2 separate regions of the Homo sapiens genome follow, and region 1 is linked to region 2. Evidence: promoter capture Hi-C in 16 types of primary human blood cells and fetal thymus (Javierre and others, 2016). All regions are on one chromosome and are shown on one strand. The core of a region is centred on a gene start or on the middle of the fragment in contact, and the rest is flanking DNA. Distances in the headings are between cores, read along the strand shown. Region 1 has its middle 180 kb from the start of LINC00562. Region 2 holds the start of HTR2A-AS1 (HTR2A antisense RNA 1).

What was found. Contacts are between HindIII fragments. The CHiCAGO score rates a contact against its expected background, and 5 or more counts as called.
Region 1: a fragment that was not itself captured here is called in contact with the fragment with the promoter of HTR2A-AS1 in region 2 in 8 of 17 cell types (naive B cells, M1 macrophages, megakaryocytes and 5 more); the score reaches 8.7 in naive B cells.

The regions. Positions count from the first base shown.
Region 1 is chr13:47,746,893-47,752,441 of GRCh38, forward strand. No RefSeq gene overlaps it. Among named protein-coding and RNA genes, the nearest start is that of LINC00562, 180 kb to the right of the region's middle. The HindIII fragment of the contact is 4,454 bases long and covers 54-4,507 here.
Region 2 is chr13:46,849,038-46,854,610 of GRCh38, forward strand. HTR2A-AS1 (HTR2A antisense RNA 1) reads left to right here and starts at 3,103. Exons shown (of 2, transcript NR_103752.1): 1 at 3,103-3,189. All of the region lies in intron 3 of HTR2A (5-hydroxytryptamine receptor 2A), which reads right to left. The HindIII fragment of the contact is 4,589 bases long and covers 1-3,531 here.

The sequences.
Region 1 (5,549 bases), core at 1,031-3,530, 900 kb after region 2:
TGCTAACTGCTAGGTGCCAGATATTCTATTTCAAAGCTGGTGTGGAATCCACAAGCTTGCTTTTAAATATCCATGGCAGTGCTGTATTCATAAACACTTCCTTGGAAATGTTATAGTCCTGGTAGGCATACTCCCTTAAGAAATAATAATAGTGACTACCTAAATGAGGACAATGAATCTTTTTAAAACATTGATCCCTCCTCATGGTTTCCAAAAGTCAAGATGTATTGGTTATCCATTGCAACATAACAAATGGCATGCAAAACAAATCACTACCCCAAAATGTAGTGATTTAAAACAATAAAATATATTATTTCCACTTTCGGAATTTAAAAGCAGCTTCAAGGGTGGTTCTGGCTTAGGGCATCTCATGAGTTGTGGTCAAAATGAAGGCTGGAGCTGATGTCATCCACACACTTCACTGGAACTGGAGGATCTGCTTCCAGGTTGGCTCACTCACACGCCTGGCGAGTCGCTGCTGCAAACCTCGGTTTCCCCCTACGTGAGCCTCTCCTCATGCAGCTTGGATGTCCTGAAACACAGTGATGAGTGACCCCCTGTTGAAAGCAATCCAAGAAGGCAAGGCAGAAATAGCGCCTGTTGTGATCCAGCCTCAGAAGTCACATACTGTGACTTCCAGTACATTCTATGAGTTAGAAGCAAATAACTAAGTCTACGCACATGCCAGGGGAGGGAAATTAAGAAGGGGAGGGACATGAGGTACGATCTTTCGAAGGAGCAATTTTGAAAGATTCGTGGACATATTTTAAAACCACCACATAAGGTTGTGTAGTCCCCAGATGAAACCGTTTGTGTTCAGTAAAATATTCTCACTTTAAAAAAATACATTTATTGAGCATTTTATAAGCATGACTTGAAAGTGATAAAATACTTTGATCACAGTCATTCTTTATGTGTGGCATGCTGACTGCATTGAAACTACAGAATTTGAATAACAATCCTTTGCAAATACAAGCATTTGTACAGTGATAGCTCAGTGTGCCAGATAATAGGCCACTGCCTCTCAGTGCCAAACCCACCCTCTGTACTCTCCCCTGTGATTCTCCTGCCAGCTTCTCCTTGTCAGGTGCTGCCGACAGGAGAATTAAACAGAGATTGCAAGGCTAGAGGAGGTAGAAGAGATTTGCTCCTTCCTCCTTGCTTCCTGTGTCACCCTGCTTTCCTTCTCTACACCAGCAGGTGCAGCTCCTTCCCAGAGCATCAACGGAACCAGTGCATTTTCCCGGTACTTGTGCATCTAGCCCCATTGTATGCCATCAGAAATACCGGCCAACCAGTGTCCCTGCCTTAGAAGCCAGGAAACCTACTCTCAGCTCAGAGAAACAAGTACCTGCTAAGCAATGGCTCCTTCTCAGAATTCTCGGTTTCAGCTCCGTGAGATCTCTCTTCCATGTTTCTAAGGTTTTCCAATTCCCACCTTTTCTCCTTGTTCTCCCAGCCCCAACAGTGGTAGCTACTTCCTGCATTTGATCCCTCCACAATAACTTCATTCATTTTGCCTTTCATTTCTTAGTTAACCGTTCTTTACATTAAATTCTCTCTTTTAAAACAAAACAAGTGGTGGTCTCTGTCTCCTGACTGTGTCCTGACTGCTACGTTCATAATGTAATTGTCCAAAAGAACAAGGAGATATGTGTAATGGAGGCTGTTGCTCAGAGTCTGGAAATTAGGTAAAGTCACAGGAAAATATTAGGGTGCCCTTACCAGTGCTTGGAGTCATTTAAGGTTGTACAACAAAATTATCAGTCATGAAATGGGGAACTATTATAAGCTGAATGCTTTGAATGTGAAAAGATAAATCTATTAGTGCTGTGGGTCTTTAAAGATCAAATCAGATGCACAGGGAAACACTGACTACCTTCAGAGCACCCTAGAGATGGATAAAGGGAGATGAGGGGTCCCACTTATGAAGAGGGCATGCGGGAAGTACTGGAGAACAGGCTATCCTGATACTTACAACCCTTTAACCAGATACAAACTCCGCTAAGGTGTCACTCTGACATTAAAATTAGGAATCTTCTATCTTGTGCTGAAAAGGGAAACCTTTGTGTTCATTCTCCCCGGGCATGAGAGATATATGAAAAGTAATCCTGTGTCACCTTGCTGTCTATGACAGAAATATTAGCTACATCCTCAATTAATAGCAAAGATTTTCATCAAGTGAAGGCAATACTGTCCCAAACTGGCAGGTATAGATTAAAGGAAAAAATAAGTCCAGAAGTCTGTTTTAGAAGGAAACTGTTATATGATTTTTTAAATGCCATCTGAGCAGAGAAAACACATTAAAAGTGGGGTGCAGAGGGTCACATATAAAACCGACTGGTTTTGACCCCAAACCATCTAGTGTATTTCTTGTAGAAATACTAATAAAGAACTTTTCTAGTTCTCTCTCTCTCTGTCTCTCTCCCTATCTCTCTCTCTGTCTCTCTCCTGCCCCCCCCACCCCTCCCTGCCTGTCTCACCATGGGTCGCCTAAGCACAGACACATCCATCTATCTGATTCACGGGGTAGTGGGAAGAGATAGTCTGCCTTTTCTGTTTCAACCCCAGCTACTTTGTTCTTTTTATCGTTTTTATTCCTTAGATATGACTATGATTTACATGCATATTTCTTAAATATATTCTGGGGGGTTAAAAAGACATCACTGCCAGAGCTACAAATTAGACTACCCAAGGCCATCTCCCCTTTACCCATTATATAAAGAAAGGAACAAGAAACATGGTTACAGAGTCACTGACGTGAATCCAGAAGTCAAATTTTAAAAAAAAAAAAAAAACAAAAAAGGAGTTTAATATGAGTTGGAAATAACAGAATATTAAATCAACCATAATAGCATGGATTACAAAATTTTAAGTATATACACAGTAAGTTCTAGAGAAGAACTACTATAATTGAAATTTTATTATACGAGTACTTATTTCAAAATTGCTGGGTTGAAACTAAATTAGCTCTTCCATATGGTTAAGTGGTTGTTTTTAGTTTGGGGTGAAATTTTGTTACAAGGCTAAGTATGAAATCTGTTTCCATAAATTTGCTTTAATTGCCTGCGTCTCCTAACCAAGAAGGAATATAAAGAACTGGGGCTATAAAGTGATAGTTTACCACCACCAAGACTTTAAGAAAATGTTACCAAATATTACAAGTTTAATAAAAGTCTTAACTATTGGAAATGTGAGGTGTTCTCAGAAAACTCAGTTCTTTATCTGGGCTAAAATCCAGGATCAGAGCACTAGCCCTCCACCACCCACAACACATAAAGGGCATAAAATCAGGGCAGAGGTAGCAAGACTCTACCCTGTGCTCATTCTCAGAGGGAGGAAACATGTACAGAAATTAAGGGCATGGGCCGGTCGCAGTGGCTCACGCCTGTAATCCCACCACTTTGGGAGGCCAAGGCGGGTGGATCACGAGGTCAAGAGATTGAGACCATCCTGGCCAACATGGTGAAACCCCCTCTCTACTAAAAATACAAAAATTAGGTAGGCATTGTGGCACACGCCTATAATCCCAGCTACTCGAGAGGCTGAGGCAGGAGAATCACTAGAACCCAGGAGGTAGAGGCTGCAGTGAGCCAAGATTGCACCACTGCACTCCAGCCTGGGCAACAGAGTGAGACTCCATCTCAAAAAGAAAAGAAAAAAGAAATTAAGAGCATGGTCTTTGAGGCAGGCAAACTGAGTTGTGAGTTTGAACTCAGACTACATAGTTCACCTGTCTCACCCCAATTTATTCGTCTGCAAATGGGACCACCAGCAAAGCTACTCTCAAGGGTACCAGAGATGCCCACATTGTCAAACTGAATGAGCTCTTTTCCACCTGGATAGTGGAAATACCCCTGAGATGCTTAATTCTATGTGTCAACTTGGCTAGACTGTGATGTCAAGCTATCTGGTCAAACACCAGTCTAGAAGTGGCTGTCAAGATGTTTTTCAAATGGGATTAACATTTAAATCAGACCTAGAACTCTTGACTTCATTTGGCACAGCTAAGACTGCCCCCCTTTTGAAACAATTTTCCCTATGCTTTCCACAAAGGAAGCCTTCTCAGCTCACACTCCTGCTCTGGTTCACAGTGCAATGAACCAGTCCTTCCTGACATCCTTTGGGCCATGTTTAGTAGGAGTTGAGGGCACTATTGTATAAGATCACTGATGGAGAATGCCATGTCCCCTGCTCACTCTGCCATGGCATTTCCCAGGTGAAATATCAGCTTCTCAACATCTGAGCTAAGCTCCCCGCCTTCCCTGCCTTTTCTGCACCTAAGGATGCCCACACTGTTTCTTTCTCTCTCTTCCTTCTTCCTTCCCTCTCTCTCCACTCTCCCTGGTAGTATCTCTCTCCCCTACCCACTGAAGTTGCCTGGATGGATGAGGTAGGGCTGTGCTCTTTGCTTACCCCAGAAATTGAGGGGATGATCTTGATTGTTCCTGCTTTTTATCCCCTTTCGCAATCAACACCAAGTTTGCTCATTCTATTTTCAAACTAAAGCTTGACTCCAGCCACTTCTCTCAATCCCCTCAGTCATCACCCTAGTCCACCATCTTCTCTCACTTTGATGGTGGAAATACCCCCTGAGATGGTTAATTCTGTATGGCAACTTGGCCAGGCTGTGATGTCAAGCTGTCTTGTCAAACACCCATCTAGAAGTGTCTGTGACGGTGTTTTTCAGAGTGATTAACATTTAAATAAGTAGATTTTCAGGAAAGCAGATTATCCTCCATAGCTGGGCTTCATGCAATTTTTGATAGCCTGAAGAGAAAAGATCTAGGTCCCCTGAAGAGGAAAGAATTCTGCCTCCAGATTGCCACTGGACTCAGGACTGCATCATCAACCCCTGCTGGAATTTCCAGCCCACTTGCCCTGTAGACTTGCTAGCCCCCACAATTAAGTGAGCCATCTCCTTAACATTCTCTCTCTCTCTCTCTCTCTGTGCCCCTAACCTCTAGTTATGCTCTCTGGAGAACCATAATATAGCCCCCACAGTGGTTTCCCTACCAGAGCTCTCCTGTCTGGTCTCCACAAGGTAGCCAGACTGTTGGTTTTTAAAGCATAAATTATATCATGTCATTTTCCAGTGTAAAACATGTCTGTCGCTTTCCATCACATTTAGAATAAAATCCAAAATCCTTAAAATGCTCTTCAAATCTTGACATGATCTGATCTCTGTCCCCACTCTGGAGCCTCCTCTCCATCCTGTGGCTACTTGGTGCACCACAATGGGCTTCTTCTCTGTTTCTCCAGTGTGCCAAACTGCTTCTCCCCTCAGAAGCTCTTCCCTTGGCCTGGGGCACACTTCCTAACCCTCTCATAGGGCCTCCTCCTAATCATCCCTGTCACTTCCTCAATGAGGCTCTCTCCCTGACCCCCAGTAATAATACTAGCTAAAGGTTAACACTGTGCTGGGCTCTGTTCTAATCATTTTGCATATGTTAATTCATTCAGTCCTCACAACAACTCTATAAAGTAGGTGTTATTATCGCCATTTTACAGATGAGGAAAAGGAGGCACAGGAAGCTTAAGTAATGCAC
Region 2 (5,573 bases), core at 1,853-4,352:
TTGGATGTCTCCGATGGGCATCCCTAACCTTACACCGTCACACTAGGACTCTGGGTTGCACTCGCTCACCCCCCACCTTTCCTTATCCCAGTAAATGGTCCTACCATCTATCCAGATACACAGCTTAAAAACTTAGGAGTCTCTTTCCATTATCCTGCCTTTGCAAAAGACTCACCAGCATTCTAATAAGTCTACCTAATAATCTATCCTAATTTTACCTGCAAAATATACTTTTTGACCTAATCTGCCTACTTCTCTTTCTCCACTGCCATCTCTGTACTCTAAGCCACTAGGACTCCTGCCTGAATTACCACAAGACCTTCCCCACTGCCCTCAAGGGGCTCCCATCCTTACCTGTGTACCTCTGAGCCTAAGACCCTCAGAGACCCCGCACTGCACTGAGAATACCATCCAAACTCCTTACTTTGGCTGCAGGCCCTCAGAGATGTGGCTCTGCTGACCTCTCCTTCCCCCTCTCTTCTCACTCCCTTCCTTTCTTACTACACTTGAGCTGGACTGGCTGCTTTCTGCTCCTTCAACCCCGTAAGCTGGTTACTTCATCAGGGCCTTGGGACTTGCTGTTCCCACTGCCAGGAACACGCCACTCTCTACTGATATTACCATGGCTGGCTTCTTCTTATTTGGTGTCCATGTAAATGCCCTCTCCCCAGTCAGCCTTCCTCACCCTGCCTGAGTCACTCTGTAGCGGATTTCTCTGATTTGTTTTTTTCCTTTAGCAGTTGCCACTGTATGAGATTATCTTGTTTGGTCTATTTATTTGCTTGTCATCTCTCTGTTTACGTGAATGTGAGCTCCATAAAAGCAGATACTTTTCCTAAGACAGTGCATGGCACATAGTATTTAAATATTAAGCATGAAATAAAGATTTCTGGAATAAATGAAGAAGCAAATGCAGAGGCCTTTGGGAACACATACAACATAAAAAGAAGAGGAGAGAACAATTATGACTACCTAGTAGACTTCCTTATTACCTTAGTTATCTTGGCAAGGGCAAGAAATTGCCCAAATATAGATCATTTGGGGGCTAACAATTCTGACAAAGTAGGGCTTTATAGAAGTTGAAGGTAAAGCTAGTTAATTTGAGGACTTTCCCTAGACAGAGCCCTTTCTCTAATATCCTAGTTAATAATAATCATCCATCTTTACATGCTAACAGTGCATCAGGGAGGACTATGTCATGGTGGTGGTAGTAAATAATAATGATAAAAAATAACACAATCAAATACTTACATGGTGCTTACTGTGCTCCAGGCACTATCCTAAGTGCTTTATACAGATGAGCTCACTTACTCCTCACAGTCACCCTATGAGTTTGTGCTATTATTATCACTGTTTGCTGATGAGAAAGTGGAAGCACAGAGAAGTTAGGCAAGTTGCCAAATGTCACACAGTAAGTGCTGAAACTAGAATTTTGAGCCACAGCCTGGCTCTGTAGTCTGTATTTTTCTATGCTCTGTAGCCTCAGCACACTTTCGCCATCAGGTATGCAGGCTTGGGGATCAAACTTCCTCACTTCAGAAAAGTTGCTGCTTGAAGAGTTGCTGCTTCATTGCTGCTCAAGGCTGGCTCTTAGATCCGGAGCCTGGAATTCATGCAGTGTCCTACCTATGAAATCTTTCTGTGGGGACAGGCCTCCTTTTATCTGTGCTTGTGTTGCAGGGGCTATACGTTTCTCATTTAGAGCCATTTACATGCTATCTATGGGAAGACTGGCTATAGAAACCATCTTTTAAGAACTTAATGCTAAGGACCAGTTATGTTTTACTGCAAGTCTTTAATGCACAATGCCAAGATCAACATTTTTTGAAATTACAATTTTCTCTGCTATTTCTTACAATGCTTATTTTCTTTCCATGGTTCCCAGCTAATTGGTGTCCCGTACCTGTGCTGATGTTGAATGTTTTTCCTCCAAATTAACCTATAGATGATTTCTGGGGTGGGGGTGAGGATGGGGCAGAAACCCTTTGAAAAGGAGTGCAAAAGTTCATGTTCATGTGACTACGTACATTTTTCAGGAAAGAGGTAATTATCCCAATACTCTGCAACACAAAAAAGATTCTGAATCACTGAGCCTGGGTGTACAAACACTATGTCTTGTGTGTATGTGTCTGTGTATATGTGTGTTTCCTAGTAAAACCAGTTTCATATCTTCATAGTTCTATTTCTTCTGGATAGTACTTTTCTAGAGAATATGGCAGTAATTTCTAATTTTAAAAGACATAAGAAACAAAAGTCACAGTAAAAATCTAATCAGCCAAATAGTTTATAAGAAAATGCAGGAAAAAGATAAAGAATGAGCTCCTTGATACATTGTATATTCTGGTTCAAACATAGTACATGCACAGATACATACAGCACAAAACACACTAACTTTAATATCCTGTGGAGAAGTTAATTTGCTGGATTACACATATGCATGTTAAATGGGAGCATTTATTAGAATAAGTCAGACCAAAAGAACACTTTCGCACGGAATATTTATATAATGGAAACAGGGATTTCTGAAAAATTGCTTCAGTTTTCCAGGTGGCTTTACAAGGGCAGGATGGATGTAGAGTAACTGGGAGAGAGACTCTCCTTTTAGCAACATTCTGGGCATGAAAGGCAGTTGTGGATCCAGCCAAATAAGCTGCAAACTTCCCGATGATATATTCACCGCTTTTCTACATTTTGTGATAGTAATAAGGAAGGTGTTAGCTCTAGCCTGCTAAATGTTTGAATCTGATGCATTTTGTAATCAGCAGAATAATGGTCCCCAAAGATGCCTACGCCTAACTCCTGGATGCTGTGAATATGTTGTGTTATATGGCAAGGATAAACTAAAGTTGCAGATGGGAATTAAAGATGTCAATCAGCTGAGCTGGAAATAATTAGAGTGCCCTGGATTATCCAGGTGGGCCCAATGTAATCACAGATTTCCTTAAAAGTGGAAGAGGGAGGAAGGTGTGTTGGGTCAAAGTGATTCAATAAGAGCAGGATTCAATCTGTACTGGCTACCTTGGAAGATAACAGGAAAAGGACCGTGGGCCAAGGAGTGTAGGTGGTTTCTAGAAGCTGGAGGGGCCAGTGACATATTTTTTCCCTAGTGCCTCCAGAAAGAACGCAGCCCTACTGACACCTTGGTTTTGGCCTGGTGAGACCAACTTTGGACTTTTCACTTCCAAAACTGTAAGTAATAAATTTGTGTTGTTTTAAGCCAACAGCAGAGGTGTCATTTCAGTTTGTAGTCATTGCTACAGCAGCACTAAGGAGCTGGCACACATTGCCGGGACTCGCTCTGGCGCTTGGGCGGCACTGTAGGTGTCCACGTTCTTGGAGGTAGTCAGCAAAGGGGGGCTCTCTCGGCTGGGCTGGCCACGTCTGCTTACACAGAGTGCTACCCTCTTCCCACTGCGGTAACAGCCTTGCCTTAGCCCCTGTGTGTTTGGAGTGGCATTCGCTACAAAAGTTCTTTGTCAAAGGGACAAACGATGAGCTATGATGCCATTCAGACTGATGTGTTAACTTCTAAGCTTTCCTATGATTAAGATAATTGTTCTATGATATGAGGAGCGGCATTGCATGCAGTATATTTCTTTATGTGCTGTTAAAATGCAGTTCACGGCTGTAGACAGGTGGGGTGAAATTAGCACCAGACTGGGAGACAGAAGCCCTGATTTCTTTCCTTGGCCTGTCCACATACAAGCTATGGGTGTAATGAACTTTTGTTTTCCCATAAACATTTTAAAATCACTTAGTCATGCTCCTCAAAAAATTTTAACTTTTGGATTAAAACTGTTGAAACTGTAGATAATCTGGTGGAAAATGAACACCTTAGTTCTACAGTTAACAAAGGTAAGTTATCTCAATAATTTGAACATGTTATATTTTTATCTACTTAGGTCTTGTCTGTCCTATAATAGTTCTAGGGCTTTTTTTTTTCCTATAAAGTTCCTGGTAATTCTTATCTGATTTTTCTTTTTCTCCTTAATATAGTGCATTATTCTGAATTGTTAGGTAAAAGTTGGTCTGCTTGTTGTCAGTATCTTATAGAGTTTGTGCTTCTCATATGCCTAGAAATTTTTTCTTGTGACTTTATATCCCCTTCAGGGGATATAAGATGCCGTGATTAATATCGTACACCAGGAGAAGGGGTTACAGCCTGTGCGCCTCCTGGTGATCTTGATTAGGAAGAAGGGGAAGGTGGACCTTAGGGCAGATGGCCTCTAGCATTGAAATGTGGGCTCCCAGATCCTCCATCTGTCCACATCTTGCTGGACACCTCCATACTCATCTGCCTGGGCCACTTCTCTGACTCCCAATCCCCTAACCCTTGGGCTGGGAGGAGAAAGAGCTCAGAAGCCAGCAGGTTGCTCTCTTCCCTTGCTGTGTGCTCTCAGTGGTTGTTGGCAGCACACTGGAATCACCTGGCAGCCTTAAATACTGATAGTGAATTGAATCCATAGAGATTCTGATTTTGTGCATTCCAGGTGAGGCCAAGTGTATCAGGCTGTTTTAAACCTCCCCAGATGATTCTAATGTGCTGCTAAGGTTGAGATCCCCAGTCCCAGCCCTCTCCTGAAGCCACCCCACTGGCTGGAGAAGATACTGGGCTGACATTGCTTTTTCTCTGCCCTGCCATGGTCACTGGGTGGGCAGGCAGGCCCCTGTCCAGGGTAGCGTGGACACTCTTCCAAGGCAGCATCTACGACTCTCAGCTGTCACTCTCAGCTCTCCTCCATCTAAAACATCTTAGTTTTACAGTTGTGCTTTTCATATGCCTAGAAATTTCTGGGCTACATTTCTTTCCCATATATGGACTTCATGACCGTCTATTTTCCCAGAGGTTTTTTGCAGTTTTTATGCTAGTTTTTGATTCACCAATCTTTTCCTTCTGTTAGGTTTAAAGAAAAAAGTCTACAGTTCCAGTTAGTCTACTTTTGTAACAGGACCTGACAACTCCACTCTACTTCCAATCCTGAAAGACTACAGGAAAAACTAGCCCAAGTGACTGAGCTGGGGGGTCCCAGTCATCGGTAGCATGGGTATTTTGCTTTGGAATATTATCAAATAGCAGGGGGACCAGCACAGTGGACTTAGTGTCAAGTCTAGGATTTGATTCTTAGCTAACAAAACAAGTTTCCTCTCTGAGTTGTGACGATTAAATGCAATAAAATGGAAAAGTGCCCAGCAGTGATGGGCTTTCAGGAGATGCCATAGACATTAGCTGAATTTGAACATTTTCAACTTGAATGGGACAGAAACATTAACTGGAGTTGACAGGAGGATCAGCGATGTATCTAATAAGCAGCATTACAAATAGCACAAGCTTAGGTGTTCCTCAGCTACCACACCTTAGTGCTTGCTCCTCTGTTAGGATTATCTATTAGACTTTGCTATTTACTTTTATTAGATTTTTATATTACAAGAGGGGCACATAATAGAGCTCATGCAATTTGGTTCATTTCAGACTTGGGCCAGCTTTAGGTGAAAGCTGCTGGAACTAATTTTTATAGCCAGGACTTCAAATAGTGACTTTGAGCCTATATCAGAACAAAATATCATTATCCCCA